Linked DNA regions of Homo sapiens: regions 2, 3, 4, 5, 6 and 7 are each linked to region 1. The links are contacts of gene promoters, found by promoter capture Hi-C in blood cells and fetal thymus (Javierre and others, 2016). All regions are on one chromosome and are shown on one strand. The core of a region is centred on a gene start or on the middle of the fragment in contact, and the rest is flanking DNA. Distances in the headings are between cores, read along the strand shown.

The links. The method cuts DNA at HindIII sites, captures the fragments that hold promoters and counts their contacts. A CHiCAGO score of 5 or more calls a contact.
Region 2: a fragment that was not itself captured here is called in contact with the fragment with the promoter of RPRM in region 1 in 1 of 17 cell types (M2 macrophages); the score reaches 6.0 in M2 macrophages.
Region 3: a fragment that was not itself captured here is called in contact with the fragment with the promoter of RPRM in region 1 in 1 of 17 cell types (M1 macrophages); the score reaches 5.6 in M1 macrophages.
Region 4: a fragment that was not itself captured here is called in contact with the fragment with the promoter of RPRM in region 1 in 3 of 17 cell types (endothelial precursors, M2 macrophages and M1 macrophages); the score reaches 6.6 in endothelial precursors.
Region 5: a contact is called between a fragment that was not itself captured here and the fragment with the promoter of RPRM in region 1, in 2 of 17 cell types (M2 macrophages and M0 macrophages). The highest score is 8.0, in M2 macrophages.
Region 6: a contact is called between a fragment that was not itself captured here and the fragment with the promoter of RPRM in region 1, in 8 of 17 cell types (endothelial precursors, M2 macrophages, M1 macrophages and 5 more). The highest score is 10.8, in endothelial precursors.
Region 7: a fragment that was not itself captured here is called in contact with the fragment with the promoter of RPRM in region 1 in 5 of 17 cell types (M2 macrophages, endothelial precursors, M1 macrophages and 2 more); the score reaches 19.9 in M2 macrophages.

What each region holds. Positions count from the first base shown.
Region 1 is chr2:153,476,960-153,480,924 of GRCh38, forward strand. RPRM (reprimo, TP53 dependent G2 arrest mediator homolog) reads right to left here and starts at 1,803. Exons shown (of 1, transcript NM_019845.3): 1 at 379-1,803. The coding sequence starts at 1,606. The coding sequence ends at 1,277. It also overlaps a transcript of GALNT13 not described here. RefSeq lists enhancers at 1-473, 474-977, 978-1,481 and a silencer at 1,838-2,037. The HindIII fragment of the contact is 6,762 bases long and covers 1-3,965 here.
Region 2 is chr2:152,779,412-152,783,580 of GRCh38, forward strand. No RefSeq gene overlaps it. Among named protein-coding and RNA genes, the nearest start is that of ARL6IP6, 63 kb to the left of the region's middle. The HindIII fragment of the contact is 2,128 bases long and covers 554-2,681 here.
Region 3 is chr2:152,725,238-152,729,029 of GRCh38, forward strand. All of the region lies in intron 2 of ARL6IP6 (ARF like GTPase 6 interacting protein 6), which reads left to right. Among named protein-coding and RNA genes, the nearest start is that of ARL6IP6, 8.5 kb to the left of the region's middle. The HindIII fragment of the contact is 1,260 bases long and covers 773-2,032 here.
Region 4 is chr2:152,762,186-152,766,344 of GRCh38, forward strand. It overlaps ARL6IP6 (ARF like GTPase 6 interacting protein 6), which reads left to right. Exons shown (of 4, transcript NM_152522.7): 4 at 1-211. Among named protein-coding and RNA genes, the nearest start is that of ARL6IP6, 46 kb to the left of the region's middle. The HindIII fragment of the contact is 381 bases long and covers 1,876-2,256 here.
Region 5 is chr2:152,842,849-152,846,920 of GRCh38, forward strand. No RefSeq gene overlaps it. Among named protein-coding and RNA genes, the nearest start is that of ARL6IP6, 130 kb to the left of the region's middle. RefSeq lists an enhancer at 3,463-4,072. The HindIII fragment of the contact is 774 bases long and covers 1,183-1,956 here.
Region 6 is chr2:152,744,018-152,747,830 of GRCh38, forward strand. The region is part of intron 3 of ARL6IP6 (ARF like GTPase 6 interacting protein 6); the gene reads left to right. Among named protein-coding and RNA genes, the nearest start is that of ARL6IP6, 27 kb to the left of the region's middle. The HindIII fragment of the contact is 4,628 bases long and covers 1-3,813 here.
Region 7 is chr2:152,859,147-152,862,895 of GRCh38, forward strand. No RefSeq gene overlaps it. Among named protein-coding and RNA genes, the nearest start is that of ARL6IP6, 140 kb to the left of the region's middle. The HindIII fragment of the contact is 4,271 bases long and covers 1-3,672 here.

The DNA of each region.
Region 1 (3,965 bases), core at 553-3,052:
TCCAAGCCGTCTCTTCCTTTCATTAGCGGTGTAATCCTGTGTTCCCGCCGGAGCCTGGCACGGAAGTGTAATCTTCCCGCGGGGGCCCTTCTGTCGTCTCGCCTACCTGAGAGCTGAGACTAAATGAAATATAAAATATTCACGATAAGAGGAAACAAAGGATGCTGCCTCCAGGACGGCTACTGTGCCTGAGGCTGGGCTCCTTCTCAGTCATCCCAGGGCCTCTCCGTCTGGCCCCACCCTCGCCCCTCCAGGGGATCCACAAGTTGAATCGCAGCTCTCCAGGGTTAATTGCCCTGGCCGGGAGCCAGACTCCTCACCGCCGCCCCGTTCCCCCCTGCTGGGGAGCGCAGAATGACCACCAGGAGGCCAGGAACAAAACGCTTAAATGTTGCATTTATTAAGGAAATGTTAAATAAGAAAAAAACAAAAAGTCAAAACGGTGTCACGGATGTCAAGAGCACTTTTGTGGCGTAAACCGTGCAGTCACGAGCTACGAGTTCTATTCTGGGTCTTTGTCCCAGGGCCAGCAGGAACGCTAGACGCCTCCCAAAAGACCCAGTGGGAAATGCACTAAAAGAAACAACTCACCCCGTTCAAATTCGCAGGCTCCCCCTCCCCCCACCCCTTCTCCCACAATGACAAAACTGTAACTCCTCAGGCAGGCAAACAGGCCACTGGGGCAGAAAAAGACTTATCAAACATTTGTATTCAAGCAAACAAACACAAAACCTCTTAAAACGGCACGTTACAATCAAAGGTATTTATCGCCCCTCCCCTCCAGGGCAGGGGGGGAGCAGGAGAAGAGTGGGAGCGCACCCGGACACGGATTTGTGAGACCCCATGAGTCTGCTGCGTGGCTTTTAACAGGTCACTCTTCCGGTCACAAGGCGATCAGTGCCGCTGGGTCTCTCCCCTGCCCGCCCTCTCCACCTGCCCCCAGAGCTTGGCCCACCTGCGGGTGGAGAAGGGCCTTCGCACCGTCGGTCTCCCCGCATTCCAAGTAAGTAGCAGCTTCCAAAGTTCTGCGCCCTAATCGCCCTCTTCTTGCCACTTTCTGCTGAGTTCAGAGTCTGGGCGCTCTCCTCCGACTGCCAGGCATGAGGACTTTCAGAGGGCGAGGGAGAAACCGGTCGCTTCTTTCCGAAAGGCCGAAGTCGAGAGAAATAATTGACTCCGACAGGTTTGCTTCGCCCAGTCTCTGATAGTGAGGGGCACAGCCGGGCTAGCAAAGTGGGCAGGCGTGGGAGCGGTTGCCGCGGGGGCAGAGGGCGGGTCAGTAGGGCCCCACGACCACCGCCTCCACCTCCTTAGACGGCCTCCGGTCCTTCACGAGGAAGTTGATCATGCCCTCGGACTTGATGAGCAGATTGCAGCCGAGGAAGAAGATGCCGAAGACCACGGTGAGTGAGAGCACGCACATGACCGCGATCTGCACCACGCGCATTATGTACAGGCTACGCTCGTCCGGGCCTCCCTCCGCGAAGCCGTCGTCGGTCACCACGGACGCCTGGGTGCAGCAGCGCACGGCTCGCTCCAGCGCCTCGCTGCTGTTGGCCAGGAACAGGCCCGCCACGTCCGTCTGGTTGCCTAGGGCCGGATTCATCGCAGGAACGGGCGGGCGCCGCGAGCGGCGCGGGTCCGAGGGGTGGGAAGGCGGCGGCGCTGGAGGAACAGGTGCCGGGCTGAGCGCTCACTCGCAGACTAGCGCGTGCGAGGGCTCCTCGCTCTGCTTTCGAAAGTCCCTGGGCCGTGGGAGTTTCCCAGGAGCCTCTCCGACGCGCGCAGCAGCTAGGCTCTTCTAAAGCCGTCCGCTCCAGCCCTGGTGGTGCTCGTTCCCGGCGCTCGCTCGAGGGGGGGCTGTTGGAACTTGGCGGGGCTGGACCAGCCCGGCCGTGGGAGGTGCGGGCCGCGGCGGCTGCAGCGGCGGGGTGGCTGCGCTGAGCAAACAGCGGCCCCTTCCGGCCGCACCGCCGCGCTGCGCGCTGCTCTTGGGAGGTGGAGGAAGCAAAGGGGCGAACCTGGTCTTGCTTTTTATTGCTTGCTTCTTTTGCAAACTCCAAAGGCCAGGCAGAGGTCACTGTACTCTTCTAGCTTGATGGATGATTAAAGAGTTTGTCGGGGGAGGGTGCGGTCAGCTGAAAGTTTCAGAGGAACTGGGACACACGAGCTCTGCGTGTCCTTTGCCTGCTGCCCCCCTGACCTCTGGGCGAATGGAAAGTGGCGATGAATCGCAGGTGCCAGATGGTGCCGGCTGAGGCCACCCGCCCACTGCCTGTGCTTGACTCCGACTCGCCTGCGTTGGATTTCTAGTGGAGTGGAGGTGATCTGAGAATGTTTCTTACAAAGCAATGAATTTGGAAAGACAGAAAGGCATGGAAGAAGGAAGGAAGAAAGGAAGGAAGGAAAGAAAAAAGGAAGGGAGGGAGAAAGAAGAGCTCTACACCCAGCTTCCTTTACAAAAGCGATTGGGAGACAGAGCAAGGCAGGTTTTACCGTGAGGTTTGAGGCCAAGGAAAGAGGGTTAGAGGAAGGAGGAGTTCTTCTGTGGCCCTTGGGTGGAGGTAGTTGCCGGGAGCAGGGTCACCTCTCTGGTAAAGGAGGTGAACAGAGTGACCACTTGCTTGTAATTTTAATTGCAGATAAGTTTTTGGATGTGCTTCCAGCATTTTGTCCGTTGGCAGTAAATCAGTTGTTGAAGGGAATTGCTCATCAACATCCATCACCTAGAACGCTGGCCAAATACTGGGAGCCCTCCCCATTTTCCATAAGCTGATGTATTTCACCCTTAGTCATTTAAACTAAACACAGATGTTTTTATAGGCCTGATTGACGCTTCAGCCATTGTGATTTTGCTCTAGGTTCCAACGAAATTCTATAAACCTGTCAGATTAAGTTTCTTAACTCTGAAAGAATATTGCATGTTCCCGCTCCCCCTTTTCTGTTTTCTTTCCCCTCCCTCCTTTTCCCCATTACTCCCTGCCTTCCTCCCTCTTTCTTTCAGCTGTAACAGCTGGAAACCAGTAACTTGAGCTTCCAATAGAATACATTTACTTTCTATTAAATGTTCTCACCACAAAGAACTGATAAAAATTTGAGATAATGGGTACGCTAATTACTCTGATTTGATCATTCCACATGTATATGTGTATCAAAATATCACTTTGTACCTCATAAATATGTACAGTTGTCAATTAAAAATAAAATAAAACTGAAAAATAGTAGCTGTCTTGCCATTTTCAACTCTACTCTTAATTTCATTCTGTTTGCTTGGTAAATCCTCTTATTTCTGTTTCTTAAAACATCATTTATTCCATCTTCAGAGTGTTCCTTAAATGTTTTTGCACTGCTTCATGACTATCATAAAATAGAATGAAATGCCTTCTGGTTGAGTTTTCAATTTTTTGATATTTATGGTATATCAGCTGCAATAAGTTTGATTTTTTAAAATAGCTATTATTATTTTGAGGGGGATGTTTAACAGCTGAAAATTCAGGCTTGGGCTTCTACCACAATTCACTGGCTTATTGTTCTAGTTTCCCATAATTTAATTAGAATTGAAAAATACCTCACTCTCGGCAATTTCTTCTTTGAAGAAATTTATTAATAATTGATAAGTAAGAATTTACTTAAATCTCATCATACAATCAGTCTATCTTAGTTAATGTGGGTAGTCCTCAAGAATAATAAAACGTAATGTATACATGGAAAAAATTACAACAAATTTAAGGCAATATAAAGTCATCCTGAGATGAATGGTAGAGAAAAGTAATAGAAATTTAGAAAAATAAAAGGTCAGAGAACAGAGGCCCACCTCCAGGGATCAAGTTGTACAGAACTGTGTGTTCAGTAGAAGTTAGGTGTAAGCAAATGGAGAGCCCCTTCTTTATGTGACAAAAACCAAGAGTTAGTTTATAGTACATTTGTAAGATCCAATATGGAAGGATGCTAAAAGTGTTAGTTGA
Region 2 (4,169 bases), core at 368-2,867, 700 kb before region 1:
CAACTTGGTACCCATCCACATCTCCTTAAACCATACTTAACTTCAAAATAAAGACAACACTTCTTTAAATTCTGTTAGGTGGAAGGTTATACTTCTGTTAGGTTAACCTATACTTCTGGAAGGTTAGCCTTCTGTTAGGTGGAAGTATAACCACCATAGTTTATACTTCCACCTAACGGAAGTATAGGTTATATTTCTACCTAACAGAAGTATAGGTTATATTTCTACCTTACAGGATCTCATGTATCCTATCCTATGTGTAACGTTTTTCAGCTTTATTGAGATATAACTGACAAATAAAAATTACATATAGTCAAGGTATACAACATGATGGCTTGATTTACATATACATTGTTGTAATGTTTACCACAATCAAATTAATCAAGACATCTATCACCACACATAGTTATCCTATTTGTGTGTATTGGGGAGCAGGGTTGAGGATGCTTAAATTCTACTCTTTCTGCAAATTTCAATAAATAATACTGTATTATTAACTGTAGTCATCATGCTGTATCTTAGGTCCCCAGAACTCATTCTTCTTATAACACAAAGCTTACATACTTTGACCAATATCTTCCCATTTCCTCCAGTCCCTGTTCCACATCCTGCTTCTATGAGATGGTGGACTTTTTTAGATTCCATATATAAGTGAGATCATACAGCACTTTTTGTGTGTGGCTTATTTCACTTAGCATAATGTCCTCCAGTTTCATCCACGTTGCTGCAAATGGCAGGATTTTCTTCTTTTTGTGGCTGAATAATATTCCATCACACACACACACACACACACACACACACACACACACATCATTTTCTTTATTCATTCATCCATTGATGGACACTGTATTAGTTTGTTCTCACACTGCTATAAGGAAATACCCAAGACTGGGTAATTTACAAATGAAGAAGGTTTAATTGACTCACAGTTCCACATGGCTGGGGAGGCCTCAGGAAAATTACAATCATGGAGAAAGGGGAAGCAGGCATCTTCATCACAAAGCAGTAGAAGAGAATGTGAGTGCATGTAGGAGGAACTGTCAAACAGTTATAAAACCATCAGATCTCATGGGAACTCACTATCACAAGAACAGCATGAGAGAAACCACCTCCATGATCCAATCACCTTCCACCAGGTCCCTCCCTCCACATGTGAGGATTATGGGGATTACAATCGGGTATGAGATTTGGGTGGGGACACAGAGCCAAACCATATCAGACACCTAGGTTGTTTTCATATCTTGGCTATTGTGAATAATTCTGCAGTGAACATAGGGGTACAGATATCTCTTTGAGATACTTATTTCATTTCCTTTGGATATGTACTCAGAAGTGGGATTGCTGGATTGTACAGTAGTTTTATTTTTAATTTTTAATGGCATCTCCATACTGTTGTGGGTGATGTTCACTCTCCTTCTTGATATCTGTAGCTTAAATACAGTGATGTAAAGTTCACTAGTATTAATGCATGTTGTATTAGATGATGGGGGTTATGAGGGAATGTTTGCTTTATGTATACACAATCAATTACATTCATAACAAAATAAGCAAGAAATACTTGTAACTATTACAGTTCTCATTTCAGCAAGTGGTCACATGGCTGTAGCTGATATATAACTACCTTTTTCTCTACCCGTTTTATATTCTCTTTGCCCTCAGCAAACACCTCAGGTGCTTCAGGATGATGGGGAAACATGGTGAGATCAGTGAATTCCAGGAGAATGGGCCCACTGCCACATTTCATTTGCTGTGAAATGAGTTCCTTAGTTAGAAGCAACGCTAGGTGGAACACCATGATGCTGCTAAGGCATTCTGTAAGTTCATGGACGGTAGTTTTGGCAAAGGCATTGTGTGTAGAGATGGCAAATTTGTATTCAAGGTAAGTATCTGTTCCAGTAAGAACAATTCCCTTCAATGATGGAAGCAGTCCAATGTAATCAATCTGCCACCAGGCAGCTGGCGGATCCCTCCAGGGAATGGTGCCATACTGGGGACTCAGTGTTGTTCTCTGCTGCTGTAGTTGGATACTCAGCAGTGGCTGCAGCCAGGTCAGCCTTGGTGAGTGGAAGTCCATGCTGCTGAGCCCTGTATAATCTCCATCCCTGACAGGATGGCCATTTTGTTCATGAGCCCACTGGACAATGACAGTAGTGGCTAGGGAAAGAAGCTGGCTGGTAGCCATAAAATGGGTCTTAATAGGCTCTGGATTATTAAAATTCTCCTCTGGACCCTCCCAGTGTGAATGAGCGGGTCTTACTTGATAAATCCACTCTGACATCCCAATCCCCTTAAGCCTTTTGATATCTTCCTCTACAATATACCAAGGCAGTTCTGGCATTTCAATTTATTTAGCATAGGACATCTTTTGGTCCATGTTTCAGTCAACCAAACTGTCAGAGCCCTTTCTAACCCCTCAAGCAAACTTGCTGAGTCCAGAATCTCTGCTTGTGAGCCCATATCAATAATTTCAGCCTGCCTTCCTCTTTTTCCTTCTTTCCTTCTTTCTTCCCTTTCTTTTTTATTATAAAGTATTTTGAACAATGAAAAATAAACAGAATAATATAAATTCTCACCATCCAGATTTTTTAAAAAGGATTAACTCAGAGGACTTGTGGTGTTTAAACCCTGCACATTCCAAAGAAAGGCCAGGCCCTTAATTGATTCCTGGGAGATAACCTATAAGCTTGTGGAATATTCTGCCTGATAAAAGTATCTGTATACCAGGGGCTTTGGGCCATGTCAAATAGTTTATGCTAACAACGTGATTTATAGTAAATGCTAGTTTTTGTTCACCTGTGTTATGGCTATATCAGTTTGACTTCCGGGGAGGCAGGCTAGAGACTGAATAGTTAAGGTTGATCATGTGGTTGTTCTGTGCCTATGTGAGTGCCCCTAGGCACCAAGGCTTGGAAGAGTTCCCTTTGTCAACAAAGGGAACTCTGTTACACACAGGTGCTGGGAGAGTTAAGCATTTTCTGTATGACTCCACTGGAAGAGGCCAACTGGAAGCATGTGTCTGGTCTCTCCCAGACTTTGCCCTATAAATTTATTGTTTGATGGTTTGATTAGGTGCCCTATTGCTGTGATATATCATAACCATGAGTATAACAGCTTTTGTGAACCCTCATGAATCATTGAACCTCAGGGTAGCTTTATGGATTCCCAACACAGATGTTAACATTTGCCATATGTTATGCTTCCGATCTTTTTTTGTTTAAAGAAATATATTGGCCAGGTACGGTGGCTCACACCTGTAATCCCAGCACTTTGGGAGGCTGAGGTGGGTGGACCACCGAGGTCAGAAGTTTGAGATCAGCCTGGCCAACATGGCGAAACCCCGTCTCTACTAAAAATACAAAAATTAGCTGGGTGTGGTGGCGTGCACCTGTAATCCCAGCTACTTGGAAGGCTGAGGCAGGAGAATCACTTGAACCTGGGAGGTGGAGGTTGCAGTGAGCTATCACGCCACTGCACTCCAGCCTGGGTGACAGTGAGACTCTGTCTCAGAAAAAAAAAAAAGAAATATATTACAGAAACAGTTTAAGACCGCAATATTTCTCCTCTTTATTTCATTCCCTTCCTCCTTATCCAGAAGTAGCCACAATTCTGAGGTTTGTGAGTGCTTTTGTTTCTGTTTCATATGTGTGTGTATATATAGTTATAAATACGAATGTAATTTTTTTTAGAGATGGGGTCTCACAGTGTTTGCCCAAGCTGGACTCAAACTCCTGGAGTCAAGGGATCCTCCCAGCCTAGCCTCTTGAGTAGCTGGGACTTCAGGCACAAACCACATGCCTGGCTGATTTTTACATTTTTAATTCATATGTGTGCATTTATAAATAATACATAGTATAATTTTTATTTTTTTGAGACACAGTCTTGCTGTGTTGCCCAGGCTGAAGTGCAGTGGTGTGCTCTCAGCTCACTGCAGCCTCCACCTCCCAAGTAGCTGGGACTACAGGCAGGTGCCCCCATGCCCAGCTAATTTTTGTATTTTTAGTGAGGCATGGTTTCGCCATGTTGTCCAGGCTGGTCTTGAACTCCTGACCTCAGGTGATCCACCTGCCTTGGCCTCCCAAAGTGCTGGGATTACAGGCATGAGCCTGGCCAATACATAGTATAATTTTGTATGTGTTTTATTTTTAATATAAATGGGATCATATTATAGC
Region 3 (3,792 bases), core at 153-2,652, 750 kb before region 1:
TGGTCACATATTGTTCTTTCTCAAAACATTCTCCTATTTCATTATTTTAGTATTACTCATCAATTCTCAACTATGGTCGAAAGAATAAAATAATTATGATGGAATTAGGATTCCAGTAAGACTTTCCTAAGACTTTAAGTATTTTTTTCATCTTTTATGAGGTCTGCATCCTAATTTATTTGATACTGTTTGTAAGTGGACAGATGCTAAGGGCAGATGTGTATACAAAGGTGATTTGGAAAAAAAAATGCAAAAAAGAATTATTGGGTTGACCATTTGAATTGTTTGTAATCTAAAAATGAAAATATGTTACAAATTATGGAGCAAAGAAGATTGTTGTCCTCTTTTCGTCAAAATAAGCCATGAAAGGCTTAAAAATTCCTTCAAACATTGTGTTTTAATGACGCAAGTGCAAAAAAAAAAAGCAGGAATAATGACAAGCTGTAACCAATTTGAGATGTATCTGAAATCTGGAAGTGGTATTTACAAGATGGATATGTTGTAGATTCATACATGAAGTTAGTAAGCAATTATTTGCACTCAGGTCGTGCCCATTTTTGGTGTACATGACTTTAGGGAAACTGGGAATTGAAATTCGGATTTGCTGTATTTATTTCTTATGAAAATTTTTAACAAAGTTTTTTTCCTGCTGTCTTTTTGCTCTCTAAATTATTCTTCAAGTGTCATGAAAATAAAGGAAATAAAAAAGCCTCTTTGGACTTATATGATAAAAATATTGATGACTGTTTTCCCTGTTATACTGAAGATTACAAGCTTCAGAGGAGAATATAAATTTAACAGGATTGCCCATGAATTAATTGTTTAAAGCTGGATGATGGGTATATGAGTTTTATATACTTCTCTCAACTTTTTCCTGTGTTTGAAATGATCTGTAATAAAAGTGTTGGGTTTTTTTTTTAATTTTCCCATGTGAATCTAATGATTTACCAATGTTGGGAACTACAGGTGTTATTTATTTTTGAAATTTCAGTCACTTAATCTGTCAGAGGATCACCTTCCTCATCTGTTTCAACAGAAAGATGTAGAAATGCTACAGTCTGGGTTGCAGGTGGTCGGGCGATTGGGTGAAGGCCTTAACCAGTGTAACTGCTATAGCTACCATGCACTCTGCACCCACTATGCTCATGTTGCATTGGCAGGAGAGGAGAGAGCACTTTCCTCTGCTCCTGCACTTGGCTTTGACGTGTAAAGAGACACTTTGCTCTAGGGATTTAAAGACTTGAGCTATCTATAGAATGTGATTTAGAGAGGATACCAAATTATTTAAAATAATGGTCATCCTCTCAAGTTAGAAAACTATAGAATCTAATAAAGTTGAGAACATTTGCTTACATAAACATTTAAAAATTGATGGTTAGTTTCATGCATATGATACATCTAAGTTTTATTAGTAGCCAGCTGGTAATAGTTTTTACAACTTTTAAAGTTAGCTAAGTACAGCCATACACCACATACCATTTTGGTCAACAGTGGTCTGCATATATGCCTGTATGATGGTGGTCCCATAAGATTACAGTGGAGCTGAAAAATTCCTATTTAGTGGCATTGCAACTGTCCTAACTTGGTAGTACAATATATTGCTCACATGTTGGTGTTGATGCTGGTATAAACCAACCTATTACCAATCTAGTTTTATATAACCTTCCAGTCATAAAAAAAAATACAGCACAATTACGTGCAGTACATAACATAATTCTTGATAAACAATTATGTTACTGGTTTATGTATTTACTATGCTTCTTATTGTTTTAGATTATATTACTTCTGCTTAAAAAAAGTTGACTGTAAAACAGCCTCAGGCAGGTCCTTCAGGAGGTATCCCAGAAGAAGGCATTGTTGTCATAGGAGATGACAGTTTCATGCATGTTGTTGCCCTTGAAGACCTTTCAGTGGAAAAAGATGTGACAGTGAAAAACAGTGATATTACCTTGACCCTATGTAGGCCTAGGCTAATGTGTGTGTGTCTTAGATTTCAACAAAGAAGTTTAAAAACTAAAAAATTAGAAATAGAAGCTTATAGAGTAATGGTATAAAGAAAAAACATTTTTGCACAGCTGTACAGTGTCCTTTTGTTTTAAACTGTTAGTAGAAAAGGGTAAAGTTAAATTTTAAAATTTATAAAGTAAGAAAGTTACAGTAAGCTAAGGTTAATTTATTAATGAAGAGAAAAATTTTTTAATTTAGCGTAACCTAAGTGTACAGTGTTTATAATAGTCTATTGTAGTGGACAGTAGTGTCCTTGGCCTTCACCTTCACTCATCAGTCACTCGCTCACTGATTGACCCAGAGCAACTCTTTGTCCTGTAAGCTCCATTCATTGTAAGTACCCTATACAGGTGTACCATATTTTATCTTTTACACTGTATTTTTACTGTACCTTTTCTATATTTAAGTATGTTCAGATACACAAGTACTTATTGTTGTATTACAGTCGCGTGCAGTATTTGGTATAGTAACATGCCGCACAGGTCTGTAGCATTGGAATAATAGGATATAACTGTATAGCTCATAGGTGTGTAGTAGGCTATATACCTAGGTTTTTGTAAGTACGCTCTTGTGATGTACAAACAACAACGAAATCACCTAATGATGCATTTCTCAGAACATATCCCTGTCATCAGTGTATGATTGTATTGTATTTTCATTGTTAGTATCATAAAATGCATTAGTTACGTAAGTAATTTAATCTCACCAGGAAAGATTCCAACAATTAAAGCAAAGGCTTTCACCGATCTACCTGTGTGTCTTTTTACATCTTTTTCTCTTTGTTTACATATGTATAGTCATTTAAAATACATGTTTTTTTCACTGTTATAGGAAAAATATAATTGGAATCATGTATATTTTGCAGCCTTGTTAAAGTGCCTTTTGGAGTATATTCTGTATTAGTATACATAGGTCTACCTCATTTTTTCATGACTGCATTGTATTTCATAATATAAGTATACCAGTTTATTTAAACATTTCAAATGTCAGAATCTCTTACCCAGGACTTGGAAATTACTAGTATACAGTCACGTTTAATCCCATTGTTTACTTATGAAGTTTTATGAAGTGTGTGCAATTGATTGCCTAACACTTATTTAATAGGAAACCTTTCCCTAGTATAGGAACCATGAGAGTTTTGTTTTTTTCTGGTGTATTCTGATTATATATAATATGTGTAAATTGGTGCCTCTGTGTCTGACTTCATAAAACTTCTTGAAAGTTGCCTCATCCCCGTAAGCTAAAACTGTTAAACAAAATGAAAATATTTAGAGCATATAACAGCCTCTTTTGCTGGAAGGTTTTATAGAAATAAAGTTGCCAGCATATTTTTAGAAGAGTAACTGCTCCCTGACACCAGAATGGCTTATTTTGAAAAATAAGCCAAAACAAATATACCCTTAGATAGGTGTCTATAATATTCCAGCAAAGGGATTGGGATAGGAAATTCCTACCCATCCCTGTTTTTGCTTTGGATGAAAACAGTCTTAAGAGGTTTCAATTGATGGAAAAGATTAGTATACATCATTTCATTGGCCAGACGTGGTGGCGTCTGACTGAAATCCCAGAACTTTGAGAGCCCCAGGCAGGCGGATCATGAGGTCAAGAGATCAAGACCAGCCTGGCCAACATGGTGAAACCTCGTCTCTACTAAAAGTACAGAAATTAGCTGAATGTGGTGGTGCACACCTGTAGTCCAGCTACTCTGGAGGCTGAGGCAGGAGAACTGCTTGAACCTGGGAGGCGGAGGTTGCAGTGAGCCGAGATTGCGCCACTGCACTCAGC
Region 4 (4,159 bases), core at 816-3,315, 710 kb before region 1:
TTTTCAGCTTGAAATTAAGATGTGACGAAGCTGGGAAAATGCAAGCCCAGGAAATGCTGGCAGCTGTAGTTCAGCCAGGCTCAGTGGGAAAGAATAAGGCTGATAACGGATATTGCTAATGGCGTTACCCTGGTCCCTGAAGCCCAGTGGCAATCCTGCCATTCTTGATACGTGAGTCAATAAATTTCTGTCTTTTGGCCTTTGCAGTTTACATTGGCTTTTGTCATTTGCAACAAAACAAGTCAAAATGAGCTTATCTAGCAGCTGGAATCCATCTCTATTGTGAAACTGACTCAGATGATCTCATCTCCTTATGTGTAGCTTACAGCATTCTATTTAGTTACTTGTGAAAGATAAACGGGGTGTAAGTATTCCTGTGGCTAGTGATTAGTCTCAGGGACTTGAAAAGACATTTTAGAATAAATTAAACTATTATTAATCTTGCTGTTTCATCAAGAAATTATGTCCCCAAATTCAGTTCCACCTTAAGTGTTATCAGAAAGAATATTACTGTAGTTATCAAGATATGATTCTTTAGTTAATACAACGTAATGAGTTTGAACTACAACTGTTACTTAATATCTTAGCATTTCCCGGTTTCCTTACCTGTCGAATGGGAAGAATAATACTTAACAAAATACTTAAACTACAGTGAAAATACTACATGTCAGAATTTGTAGGACCTAGATAAAACACTGTGTAAGGGTAATTTATAACTTCAAATACATTTATCAGGACGAAAGTACTATTGAAAGCTAAAGAGCTAAGAATGCAGATAAAAAGCACAAGCAGCAGAGTAACATCCCCGCCCCCACCACACACACAAGAAAGATTGGAAATAGGAAAGATAAGGATACAATCAATGGAGACTCACACCAAAGAAGTGGGGACAATATCCAATACCAAAAGTCGTTTCCTGGAAAAGATATGATTGACAGACTTCTGGTAAGTCAGATTTAAAAAGAGATTTTCTATATTTGTCTATTTTCCTATTTCTGCCCATGCTCTTGGTTATGTCAGCTGCCAGAAACCATCTGTATTAGGGTTCTGTAGATGGACAGAACTAATAGGATATATGTATACATGAAAGGGAGTTTATTAAGAAGAATTGATTCACACGACCACAAGGTGAAGTCCCACAATAGGCTGTATGCAAGTTGAGCAAGGAAGCCAGTAGTGGCTCAGTCCGAGTCCCAAAACCTCAAAGGAAGGGAAGCCAACAGTGCAGCCTGCAGTCTATGGCCAATGGCCTGAGAACCACTGGTGTAAGTCCAAGAGTCCAAAAGCCGAAGAACTTGGAGTCTGATGTTCGAGGGCAGGAAGCATCCAGCACAGGAGAAAGATGAAGGCCAGAAGACTCACCAAGTCCACTGCTCCCACCACCTGCCTGCTTTATTATTGCCTCTCTGGCAGTTGAGGGGATGGTGCTCACCCACATTGTGGGTGGGTCTGCCTCTCCCGGTCCACTGACTCAAATGTTAATCTACTTTGGCAACACCCTCACAGACAGACCCGGGAACAATACTTTGCATCATTCAATGAAGTGGACACTTAATATTAACTGTCACACCATCTGACTAAGGAAAAGGGAATCAGGACTGGTGGGGAGGAACCTAGAAAGTGCCAGAGAGTCAAGGAAAATGAAGCAAAGGGACTGTCTGATAGTGGGAATAGCCTGGTCAGGATAATGTATATAGATGGATCCTTGCAGAGAGTGCCCAGTTGGCCAAGATTAGACTGTGTGCCTACTCCTTTGGCTTCTCTAGTTGAAGGCAGCATCTGAAATTATTTTGGGATGGTTGAATGGATATCAAGCAACCACAAATACAAATAATCACTGTACACTCTGCTGGTCAGCTTCTCTTTTCACCCTTAAGCTTACAACAGTACTCATATGTAACAATGTAGCCATTGTATACTATATCCAATACCAAAGCCAGGACCTTCAGATTATGTCCCTTCTAGTTTTGCCACATTCTCTTATTGATATTCTACAAATTATACTAGTCATTTTAATACTTATTAAGACATTGCTTTTTTATGTGAACTAGAACAATATTTTTAAGAAGGACAAAAAGATGGGAAACTTGTTAAAATACACTTTATATATGAGAGCAAGAAAATACAGATCAAAGTTACTGTCATTTAAATTAAGCATTTGGTTATGACACCTTCCCTTCTATACACATGTATTCTATTTTATCTTTGCTTTGGCTACTACGTTGGCTAAGTTTCTTCCCTGATAATGGCGACCAAAGCTTTATTTCTGACACATTTCAGCTCTTAGTTCATCTTTTGCCACTGTATGTGGCAGTACGAGAACAAATATATTTTCCTTCTATATTCTTCCTTGCTTATTATGTGGCAGCATTTGTATTATAATGTTAAAACACACCAACTAATATAGTGACCCTCTTTTTTGCATGATTATTCATGGCATACAGAATCTAAAATTACCAGATGGCAGTTTGAACTTCCGGTTCTTCTGAACCAGTTTTCTTTTTGAACTTCCTTAAGTACTAAAACCTTTAAAACAGAGTTCAGACTCAGAAGAACAGAAAGCAAAAACTTTATTATTGGGTCACTGGGTGTAATAGAAACATCCGGCAGTGTCTTGGTTCTTGAACCCATGTAATATGGGCATGGGAGAAACCAGCAAAAATCAGTTCTTGGATAAAAACATACATTGCATCCAGAAAGATGCCATTTTAGTGTTAACTGTCAGCTAGCTTAATAACTAACTCTTGAATAGATTATTTCAGTGTTGAAGGTGCATTATAAGAGAGAAGTCAACAAAATAAGAATTGAGTGTGGCCAAGTGTGGTGGCTCACACCTGTAATCCCAGCACTTTGGGAGGCTGAGGTAGGCAGATCACTTGAGGCCAAGAGTTCAACAGCAGCCTGGGCAACATGGTGAAAGTCTGTCACTACTAAAGATACAAAAACCAGTTGTGGTGGTACATGCCTGTAACCCCAGCTACTAGGAAGGCTGAGACAGAATCACCTGAACCCAGGAGGCAGAGGGCAGTGAGCCGAGATCACACTACTGCACTCCAGACAGATTCTGTCTCAAAAAAAAAAAAAGAAAAAGAAAAAAGAATTGAGCAATTGAGCACGTTGTCTTACCTCCTCAGGGTAGTAAGTTCCTTGACCAGAGCAATGTGGTGGGAATCCATGATAATGTATAAATTATGCAGTAAATAGTAGGGCTGCCAGAGGCAAGGAAAGCAAATCTAAGACCATAATGTATCTACCAGTGGGGACAAAACTGCTAAGTGCTACCTCATCTAATGCAATTAATTGGCTATCAGGTAGCTGGCTCATCCCCCAAGATATGATGCCATAAAGAGAGAGAGGGAGAGAAGTTGGTGGGGTGGGAGTGGGGCAGCAGAGATAGAAAGGCAGCAGCAGCCAGGAAAGCCTCTGAAAGTGTGGGTCCATCTGACTACCCCACCATCCTAGCATTTTATGCTCCCATTAAGCATTGGCTTGACAGAGACTACCATCTACAGTATAGGTTATGCTGTCCACCTGATTATTTAGAGCCTCTTTCGCAATGAAGGCTTTGTTGTGAGCATTCACATAGCTCAGAAATATTCTCAATTCTGGGTCCATTTAAAGAGCTCCATCTATATATCTCTTCCCCACCTTTCTTAAGTTGGCACCAGTCCTTTGTCAAGTCCCTGGCAATCCAGCCAAACTACTAGTTCACTCTCCTTGAATATACATAATCCTTATTTCATACCATACTTCTTCTAGCCAAGGAGACAACAGTATGAACTGCTTGAAATTTATATTGAACTCCCTAGGAAAAATTTCTTTTTCACTGCACATTGCTACCACCTATGAATGGGGGTTTATGCCCCCCACCACCTCATTTTTGGCTGGTAGTAACATATTACACAGAATCATCTATAAATTGGGCTTGAGTTTCAACATCAGTCAATTATCTATACCAAACCCTCGTGAGGCCAGGCTGCGGACTGAATGAAGAGAGGCTGCATGACAGTAGGAAGCAGGATGGGAATCTGATCATACAACTTACTCAGGACTTGAGGAAAATGAAAGGATGCATCTATGTCAGTGGTTCTTAAGCAAGGGCAATTTTGCCTTCCAGGGGCAAAACATAGAAATTTAGCTAATTACTTAGCAATGTTTT
Region 5 (4,072 bases), core at 320-2,819, 630 kb before region 1:
GATACTTTTTATTTCTGAAGTATTCATTGTAATGTCTCCACTTTTATTTTTTATTTTATTTACTTGAACCTTTTTTTTCTTAGTTTGTCTAGCTAAGGATTTGTCCATTTTGTGTATTAAAAATCTCAATTGTTAATTTTGCAGTATTTTTCTATAATTTTTGTATTCTATATTTCTGCTATGACCTTTATTACTTCCTTTCTTCTGTTAATTTTGGGTTTAGTTTGCTTTTCTTTTCCTAGTTCCTTGCAGTATAAAGTTAGATTGTTTATTTGAGATCTTTTTTTTTTTAATGTAGGCATTTACGGCTATAAACTTCCCTTTTGGAATTCCCTTTGCTACTTCCCAAAGGCTTTAATATGTTGTATCTCCTTTTTTGTTTGTTTCAGTAAGTTTAATGTCACTGTGCTGATATACAAAAGGGTGTTGCTGTTGGTATTTAATATTCTAGTAGCCTCTTAACATTTTTAATTCTTTATCTTTGAATTTGTGTTTTAGTAAGTGAAGTCTGCTGGGACAATAGAGCGTACCCCAGGGGCTTACAGTCTTAGCTCACAGACCCCACCTCTCCTGCCTCCTTACCTCCTCTGGAAGTTTCTTGTCTGCTAGCTCTCTACCACCTGGGGGCTCAGAGGCTGCCCTGCAATGCCTGCCACCCTCTCTCTATAGTGGTAACCTGGTTGTATGGGTTGGGGTGGGATAGGAAGCGGGAGCATGTTCTGCTGTTTCTTTTTACAACTAGCAGGGGCCTGGGTGAATGTGTTGGGTGTGCGGTGGTTGCACTTGGACTTGAGAGTCTCTGCCTTGGGTTAGCAGCATCATTGGCACTTTTGGTGGGCAATTTAGTGAGAGCCTTTCACCCACCCTTGATCTAGGTTGAGTGCCTCTTGACGTAGAGGTTGCAATCCCTTGAGTGTAGCCCATCCACCACCAGTTGGGGCAGTGGGTATATGGGAAAGAGGTACTGACTTCCATATTCCCAGGGCAGGCCTCAGATTTTCATTATGCACTGGGCCCTGCAAATTATTTAGCTGGCTCCAGTCAAGGAAACTGGATATTTTTATTCCAATTCTGGAGACTCATTTTGGAGGGTTGCTTGGTGGTGATGGTGATGTTGCTAATTCCCTGGTACTATGAACCTGTGAGGCATGGTGCTAATGGCCTTTCATAGGTTTGTTATAAAGCTTTCAGGCCCAGGGATTCAGACACTGGCAGCTAGAAATCTACAAGGGCACATGGAATATTCTGAAGGATATAGGGGAAGGGAAGTGCTGACAGTGTCTATGAGACACCTTATTTTATATAATAAACATAAATTATAGCTGCATCAAATACTTAAAATTTTTTTAAAAATAAAAATCTTAGATGAAAATTAGTGAAATCCAGATTGAAGAGGCCCTTTAAGCAAGACATGGAAGTGAAAAACCATAAAAGTAGACATGTATGATTACATTAGGAAATTAGAGGATAAAAATTTCATAAACAAAATTAGGACAAATGAGACACTGGGAAAAATATGCATTCTATAAAACAGACAAAGAATAAATATCAATGATGGGCAAAGAACTGTTATAAATAGAAAACAAATAGCAAACTCTCTTGGAAGTTTTTCTATTAAAGTTGTAGCTAGGTAACTCACAGAAGAGCAAATCCAGAATGAGTAATGAACATATGAAACAGTTTTTAAACGTTAGTACTAATAAGAAAAATGCAAATTAAATATTGAGTTCTCCTTTCTCAACCATCTATTGAATTGGCAAAAACTTAAAAAGATGGATAAACTTACTGCTGGCAGGGATGTGGGAAAGGGCACTGTCATGCACTGTTTCTGGACATGTGTGTTGTGTGTTGTTACAGCCTTTTTGGAAAATAATCTGGCAATATCCACAATAAGCAAATTAAACACACGATTTGACCCAGAAATCCTACTCCAAGAACTCTATTGTAGAGAAATCAAGCTTCAGTGTGTAAGGACGTGTATGTACATACCACCCCCAAGAATGTTTATTGTGGTATTTTTCTGGAAATAAGTTAATGCATATTAATATATTTTGCCAATTCGTAGGATGGAATGGTATGTAACCAATAAAAATAATGTATTAGTTCTATACAGATTTATACTAGTTTTGCTTTGAGAGAGTTCCATAATGCATTTTTTTCTATCTTAAACTTTTAAAAAAAATAGACACGGTGTCTCCGTCTGTTGCCCAGGCTGGTCTTGAACTCATGGACTCAAGCACTCCTCCTGCCTTCGCCTCCCAAAGTGCTGGGATTACAAGTGTGAACCACTGCACCCAGCATATAATGTATTTTTAAGCATGAAATGAAAGATGCCAGAAAGTACATATATATATTAATATCCTATTAAAAAGCCAAAAATTGAGGGAAAACCCTTATGTGTGTATTGAGTGTTCTGTGAACCTAGAAAAGCAATGAAAGATTACACTAGGTTGTTAACAATAGTTTCCTGGCTGGAGGAGAGGGAAGAAGTGGAATTTAGAGGTTGAAGTGATGAAAAACGAAGGACTAGGGGAGTTTTCCACACTAACAAAAACAACACATGTTGCAGAATTTCATTTATGTGAAACTTAATACATGTGTATGTACATACCTGTATAGACATGTATGAAGAGGTGCATTAAGGTTGGTTATAAAATATTAACTGTGGTTATCTGAAGGTGTTGAGATTTCAGGTGATTTTACTGTTTCTCTCATAGTATCTTAGCTAATGTCACATGGCTGGTAAGTGGCAGAGCCAGGATTCAATGTATTTGACCTCAAAGTCGTTCTACTTTTACATACAGTGTACCTCTTCCCATAGGACTACAGCAATGGTCAGTTACCAACACAGGGATATAAGCAGAAACTCATTAACCAGAATAGAGGCACAAACTGGGATGTGGATGGAGGAAGAAGGCAGTAGTCTAGTTATCAGAACTGAGACCCAAAAGTCTGTCTCTAAGAACTCAGTGTAGCTGAGTCCCTGCATGCAGGATAGAGTCACTTACCTATATCTGGCTGAAGGTCAAGCCTCTTTTAGGCAGTGGTTCTACTTCTACTCATGGCTACACCTAGGAATCCACGGGAAGAGTGAGAAAATACTGATGGCTGGGCACAGTGGCTAGTGCCTGGAATCCCAGCCCATTCAGGGCCCGAGGCAGGAGGATTGCCTGAGGTCAGAAGTTTGAGACCAGCCTGGGCAACATAGCGAGAACTTGTCTCTACAAAAGAGAAAAAAAATTAGCCAGGTGTGGTGGCGCACACCTGTAGTTCCAGCTACTTGGGAGGCTGAGGTGGGAGGATCACTTGAACCTGGGAGTTCAAGGTTATATGAGCTATGATTGTGCCACTCCACTCCAGCTTCAGTGACAAAGTGAGCTCTGTCTCTTAAAAAAAAAAAAAAAAGCTAAAAAAATACTGATACTTGTTCCCCTCTCCCCATTTGTATTGTTAGGCCTCATTCTCATCTTGGGAATAGGGATTTTAAATTGCTCCACAGGTGTTTCTAATAGGTAGCCAGAGTGGAAGTTAATAAATGGTAAATGAATCAAGAAACATTATAGTTAAATTGTGTTAACTGTCACACATAAGAAGATGATGTGGCAGAGCAGCAGTTCTCAAACTTCCACGAGCGTCAGAATCACTTACAGGGCTTGTTAAAACAGATTACTGGGATCCAACCCCAGAGTTTGTGACTCTGTGGCTCTGTGGTGGGACCTGAGAATCTGCATTTCTAACAAATTCCTAGATGCAGCTGAGGCTGATCGCTGGGGCCCAGTTTGAAAACCACTGACCTGAATAGAGAAGGGACCTGAGGTCAAGGGTCCAGTGGTGGCAGATTTGAGGAGAGTGGCTGCAGAGACCGGGAACCAGGCAGGGCCTGCTGATGTGATTGACCTTTTGAATTCTCCGCACTTGATCCATTCGTCTACCTGCCACCTCCCTTCAAAGCAAGACCTACTCCAAAAGAGAGATTTAAGGATCATTAGCTGTAATGAGATTTTATACTAATAAGATTTTATTGCTAACCATAAAATATATACTCTGCCAGTTTGCCACAAAGCAGTCTGTC
Region 6 (3,813 bases), core at 886-3,385, 730 kb before region 1:
CAAGTGAACATGAGTCTTTTTGAGGCATAGATTGAATTGTTTTGAAAAGAAATCTCCACCTTGAGTATAACTCTGTTCAGTTTAATGACCTCGAACATCTATGTTTATGCTAAAAATATTTTTGAAAGGCATGATTTAAAATTTTCCTAGATAGCTTTTAAAAGAGACCAAAACCTTCAAAGTCATCTCACAGATAGTCATTTTGAATTACCAGAAGTCAAACAAAATTATTATATTTTTATCATAACTAGACTCAGTTTTAAGCTACAGTATTCTTCAGGTGTCCTTTGAATAATTACATTTGTGCATTTCCTAGGCAGATTGGAAGACACAGTTGAATGTCTATTTTATAGAAGTCAGCATGAATTTACTCTTACATTTTTAGAGAAATTTGAAGTTTGGTATCTTCTCTTTAGATATATTATTGGTTGTATTTATGGCTTATTTGATATAGGGTTCATGGCCAAAATGCAGGGAAACTTCAGTTATTAGTGTTATATCATGATTTCTAGGCATATGCCAAGGTAAAGAGTGGTGTCTTTTTTTCACAAATGCCTGCTAAAATATAATCTATGAGATTAGATTGGGAATTTGCATTATTTCACAGTTAATATACAAATCAGCGGGTATCTGCTACCTTCCTCATGCTATCAATCTTTATTGTCTGATCACTATGAATTATCCATCTTTCCATTTCTTCTTCTTCCAACCACAAATAACATTTGATAAATATCCAGACACTCAATTTTAGAAAACATGCTTTTAATTTAATTTTTATTTAATGTAACATTATTTATATGCATCCTTGTTTAAAAAAATTGTATTGCCTTACAATGCAATCTGGAATCTGCAAAATAAATTGTAAGTGAGAAAGAAAAGGGAACAAGTTAATTTTAGTTTGAATTAATTTTTGGTAAATTGTTTTTAGTAACTATTTTAGAGAGTAACATGATCTATTACTCTTTTACATGTGTTACTTCCTATGTAAAGCGTTCTGTATGTAATTAGATGCTAACATTTGTGTGTGAGAGTGTGTTGTTAACTGTAGTAGGGAGCAGCAGATAGTAAAATACTTTGACATGTGAATTTCCTGGAACATTCAGGATTCAGTATTGGCATCCTGTATTATAATGTTACTTTTCTATTCAACATTAGTTTGGGTCTTTAAAATATTGTTATTAGGGTTTTTCTCTGACGTCTTCACATTGAGGGTTAGGAAGATAGAGAACAAATAAAACAGTTGAATCATAATATGCAATTCAAGAAAAGGGAACAAGTTGATTTTTGTTTGAATTGCTTGAAATTTGAAATTTCCAGCAGCACTCAGTTTTCTTTAATACAGTTAGCCTATCCTCATAACTAAATACAAGCACTGATTTTCCCTCCTTGGAAATAAGTATATGTGGACATCTTTAGCATAAAATAATATACGAGTGTTACAGGTTCTTAACTTGGGCATATATATAAGCCTTGGAGGTCAAAAACAGTGGGTTAGTTAGTATTCAAATTAGAAATTTCTTTTCCATGCAGACTAGATTTAACATTGAGCACAGTGAATTGACTCTACTACTCTTTGATACAGATTTTGGAGAGCTGCCTCTTTGTCGAATCAGATTCTTTATTGCCATGAACTAATGAAACAGATGTCAGATGGCTAATTGCAGTAGGAGAGAAAAGCTACTGACAAAAGAGATGGTTCAGGAACTTGGCCTTGATATTTGAGTATCATGAAATCTCATTATCTGGGGACTATTCAGAGCCATCAATTACAGTGCTGTCACTATTAATGAATATATTGATGGCATTGCACCGCGGCTTCTTGAAGTAAAGGGTTAAAGTACATGCATATTGTGTAAGATATATTTCATTACTGTTCTGAATGGAGATATGCATAGATATAACAAAATCCTCTAGGAAATTGTATTAACTATTGGTTTTATTGTTTCCATAAAGTGATACAGCTAATGAGTGCTTGCTTTGTACCTTTTTTTTTTTTTTTTTTTTTTTTTTTTTTTTTAAAGACAGGTTCTCACTTTGTTGCCCAGGCTAGATAGCAGTGGCATGATCTTGGGTGACTGCAACCTTTGCCTTCTGGGCTGAAGCGATCCTCCCACCTCAGACTGCTGAGTAGCTGGGACCACAGACATGCGCCACCACATCTGGCTAATCTGGCTAATTTTTGTATTTTTTATAGAGACGGGGTTTTGCCATGTTGCCCTAGCTGGTCTCGAACTCCTGGGTTCAAGTGATCCACCTGCCTCGGCCTCCCAAAGTGCTGGGATTACAGGCATGAGCCACCTTGCCCAGCTGCTCTTGCTTGTGCTATTTACAGTGTTATATATGAGTAGCTGAAGAGGGACAAGTGTCCATATGCCCAGAGCAATACTGACAAGAAATACTTGAGAGACAGTGCTTGCCAATTTTGTACTTGGAACCCTTTTTGTTTGTTTAACAACCTATAAATTACCAGAGGCAGCCTGATATAATTAAAAAGGGTCTTGAAGTCAGGAGAGGTAGCTTCCAAATCCAACCTACCCTAGCAGAAGGACATTTGAGCAAGTCAGTTAGTATATCCAAGCTATAACTTCCTCATCTCTAAAATGGAGTAAAAATAATGGTACCCTCATAGGCAGTAAGTGTAAGTTTACTAAAGCAACAGATACGTCAGATGATAAAGCAGACATAGTGTCAGAGGTTTTCTTTTCTTAAGGTTTTTTGAGCTGGAAGTCTGACCATGGCCTGCCACAAGTTGCCAGTTATCTTTTCTTGGATAATTGTTATTTATCCTGAGATTTTATCCTTTCTTTTTTTTTTTTTTTTTTTTTTTTGAGGTCTTGCTTTGTTGCCCCAGGCCGAAGTGCAGAGTGGCACAATCATGGCTCACTGCAGCCTCAACTGCCTGGGCTCAAACAACCCTCCTGCCTCCGCCTCCCAAATTGCTGGGACTACAGGCGAGTGCTGCTATGCCTGGCTAAATTTTTTATTTTTATTTTGTAGAGATAGGGTCTCACTAAGTTGCCCAGGACAGTCTTGAACTCCTGAGCTCAAGCAATCCTCCTGGCCTAGTCTCCCAAGGCACTGGGATTACAGGCGTGAGCCACCACGCCCAGCCAACAACTAATTGTTAATATTATCTCATTTAGTTTTAATAAGAACACTAATGAAAGGAATTATTATCCTCATTTTAAAGATTGAGAATTAGATTTTCTGGTAGGTTAAAATAGTTCTGTGACTAGTACAGCCATGACTAAACTCCAGTGAGGAGAGAGCTAGCTTTCCAGGTCTTTCATTCTGATCATATTAAACAATTGAGCTTCCTATTCTCTCCATTGTCTCTTGCTTCTGCGCATACTGTTAGGTGTTTAGAACACTAAATCCCTCATACTCAATTTTAGTTCAGGTATTAGCTCTTCTTTGGAATTTTTTCTCCCCTTCTACAAGCTGAATGGCTCCTTTATGTTCCAGTAATACTGCCTGCAAAACAATCTACTACGTCACAAGATTCTGTTATCTTCGAAGGCAGTACTGACTCCTTACTCATTTCTCTCTCTTTTTTTTTTTCCTTTTTTTGTTGGTTTGAGATAGTCTCACTCTGTCACCCAGGCTGGAGTGCAGTGGCATGATCTTGGCTCACTGCAACCTCCACCCGCTGGGTTCAAGCAATTCTCCTGCCTCAGCCTCCAGAGGAGCTAGGATTACAGGCCACCACACCCAACTAAGTTTTTGTATTTTTAGTAGAGATGGGGTTTCACCATGTTGGCCAGGCTGGTCTCAAACTCCTGGCTTCAAGTGATCCACCCGCCTTGGCCTCCC
Region 7 (3,749 bases), core at 287-2,786, 620 kb before region 1:
GGTGAGTAGCTTTTACCAGTTGATTTAGAGTAGTGGCTTTCAAACTTAAAAAAAAAACAAATGAAGACCCAGAGAAATGAATACATTTTACGTTGTTACCCAATACTGTATACACACACACTCTCTCTCTCTTTTTCTCACAGATTACATCCAAACATGCATATTTATGATGGAAGCAATGTTTCCCATTTCTTACTTAAAGAATACTTAACACTGTGGCTAGCCTAATGGGTTTTCTGAAAACTTACCAGTGTCAGCTCAGAGGTTCCTGGACATGCAAAGCTGCTATTAATACCTTCATACACAGCACAAAAAAAGAAAGAGTTCCGAGAAGACACAATGTTGTTTACAGGTAATTTAGCCTCTTTTTCTTTTAAAATATTTCTGCTATGAGATTTACTTGTTTGGACCTTGTGATTTATTCAGATCTTTTCTCAATTTAGTGGCAAGAGAACAGTCATAATATGTCAGATAATCAATTTATCTTTAAAGTCGTCACCTATATTATTTGACTTTAATAGAAAAAATGTACTTTCCTTTCTCTATTTAGCTTAGTACCCACTAACTAGATATTTAAAATCTAATCGTCTCCTTGAATGGAGAAAATTATGTTTTCTATGATATTTTATATCTGAGAGGATTCATTAATAGGGATTTAAGTCTCTTACTCCTAGGTAATACTGAACCTGGACTTAAACCTAAACAGAACCTGGCAGAAATCTGTACTGAATGTGTAAGCTCATCCCTTGAGATTTCAGTACCCCAGCATTTTTAGTGGCTGAAATAATGAAAATTCTCATTAGGCCCTTGCCTGCTTGCGCATGTTAACTGCTCACTTTTTGCCAAACATCCCTTGTTCCCACAATATAATTATAAATTGCCAGTGTACTGTTTCTTTGTCAAGCAGGAAGAGACAACTTCAGGGACACAAACAATTTTGGGAGGAGGATTGTATGCCTTTAAAGATGTTGCAACCAGCTGCTGACACCCAGAAGTCTGGTTGTATAAGGTGTTATCTGAGACTGAGGAAACACAGACTTTTCCTCTTAGTTCCCTGAAACTTCTTCCCCCTTTTCTCTAGCTGTATAAAAACTCTCTGTTTCATCTTTCTGTTAAGACAAATTTGAGGCTGGGCGTGGTGGCTCACACCTGTAATCCCAGCACTTTGGGAGGCCAAGGCAGTTGGATCACCTGAGGTCGGGAGTTCGAGACCAGCCTGACCAACATGGATAAACCCCATGTCTACTAAAAAAATACAAAAATTAGCTGGGCCTGGTAGCACATGCCTGTTATGCCGGCTACTCGGGAGGCTGAGGCAGGAGAACTACTTGAACCCAGGAGGCCGAGATTGCAGTGGGCCGAGATCGTGCCACTGCACTCCAGCCTGGGCAACAAGTGCAAAACTCCATCTCAACAACAACAACAACAACAACAAAAAACCCAGACAAATTTGAGAGTTCTTGCTCTCCTGCCTTCTTGCTTTGGCCAACTTGAACACATCTCTGCATCTCCAAGCACCAATATCTTAGTGTTCGGCTCCAGCTATGCACTGGGTACACAGTCGTGAATTTGGGGTTGTACAACATTTGCATACTGTACTCATTCAGTGGTCACTAGTAATTTGCCTCCCAGCTCAGTGTAGCTAACTAGATACGGAAAATGACTAACTGCAGTGTAATAGCATGATGTCTGTGGCATTACTAATGGTTGGAATACATTAGAAAGCCAACGTTTAGTTGCTGTAATTATTGTTATCAATTTTCTATTGTTTATTTGAAGAGTCCTGATCCAGGCTCAGAGGTGTGTTAGCTATAAAGTCATTAGAGTGCCTCTGGGGGCTACGACCTGGAGACGAACACTGTGAATAAAAACAAACGTGTTTCTGTGAAGTGTGGGAACGGAGAAGGAGGATAAATAGCAGCAGAACAAAGATCCCTTATTTCACCGTGGTGGAAAGAAAACTTTGCTAAGAGCCCCCCAAGGCAGGATCCTTGGGGCATGCCAGGCCTCATCTCAGGAATTTGTGCTACATTGAACCATTCTTCAGCCCTGCCCACATATAGATCTGCAGGAGAGTGTGGATGCCCTGAGAGGTTCAAGTTGCTCCTGAGTTGGCTGCTAATTATATGTCATAACCATTCAGAGGCACCTCTAAGATTTGGGGAAGAGGGAAGCTGAGGAAAGTTGAAGTTTTAGTTGATATTGCATATGGGATTCTGGGAACTTAGCTGGTGTTACAGGTTGGTTTTTCCCACGCAATGCTGAGATGGGATTTGGTGTGCAGGATACTTATCAAGGATTAACAACTGTGGAAGAAAAGAGGTAGGAAGCAGGATTGGGCGGATAAAGAAGTTGAAATGTGACACAGGCGCCACTAGCTATAGTCAACACCAGGGGGAGCTCCTGAGTACATTCTGTTGATCAGAATAAATTGTGATGCCCCTGTGTCAATAACGTCTCAATCAGCAACTGGTTGTTGGCTGTCTTTACAGGGTGTGTTCTCAGTAAGGTGACTCTGCAGCTGAGGAAAACCCTGAATGCTGACAGCTGGGGCAACAGGTCACCCCTAGAAGGGAGTCTGGGTGACACATCTCAACATCTAGCACAACTAGTAAGTGACAGAGCTGAAATTGAGCTTGGGTTCTACTCATTCCAAGGCTGACAATATTCCTTCTTTTCTTCAGTTAGCAAATATTTTTGAAGACTTTCTTAGTGCTAGGCATTGTTTTAGGTGTTAACGATTCAGTATTGAGTGGAAAAGAAAAACGGGAAAAAAATCACTATCCTTAGGGAATTACATTGTAGCAGTGTTGGGGGAGATAACACATAAATAAAGAAGTAAAATACACAGTATATTGGATGGTGGTAAGTTCTATGGGGAAAATAAAATAAAATACAAAAGGTGGAAAGGACTGTGTGAGTGTAGGAGGACAGGATAGAGGGTATTGTTATTGAAAACAGAATAGTCACAGCCTGAGCAACATAGTGAGACCCAGTCTCTACAAAAAGTGAAAAAATTAGCTGAGCATGATGGCTCCTGCCTGTAGTCCCAGCTACTCGAGAGGCTGAGGTGGGAGGATCACTTGAGCCTGGAGGTCAAGGCTGCAGTGAGCAATGATCGTACCATTGCACTCCAGCCTGGGCAACAGAGTGAGACCCTGTCTCAAAACAAACAAAACACAACAAAACCAAACAACCAGACTAGTCAGACAAATACTCACAAAGGAGAGGACATTTGAGCTAAGAGCCAAAGAGGAGAGGGAGCATATCTTATGCATGTGGAGGAATCATTCCAAGCTGAGAAAACAGCCAGTGCAAAAGCCTGAGGTTGGAGAACACCTCGTGTATGCTTGTCGTAGCATTCCTGTAAAAGATTTTGTGCATAGCACATCTAGCCTTGCGGAGAATACAGTATTTCCAAACTTCACTCATTTATGTACCATTGTGATAATTTTTGTAATATTCATGTACCATCCATACTATTATGTAATTAGATTTTAAGTAAAATGCCCTTTTCATATTTAAGTACATTTATTTTAGGAGACTTTGTGAAAATAAACAAAGACCACCCAAATGAGAAAACACAAAGGCTATTTATTCAGAGCTTATTACAGTAAAGGAGTCAGCCACTACCACTTGTGTTTGGCTCCAAGGCAGGCAGAGAAGTGGGAAAGCTTTATAGTAGAAAAAAGGGGAGACTTAGGTATGCTGTGATTGGAGGCTGTTGGAGTAGGGAAGCTGAAGGTAGG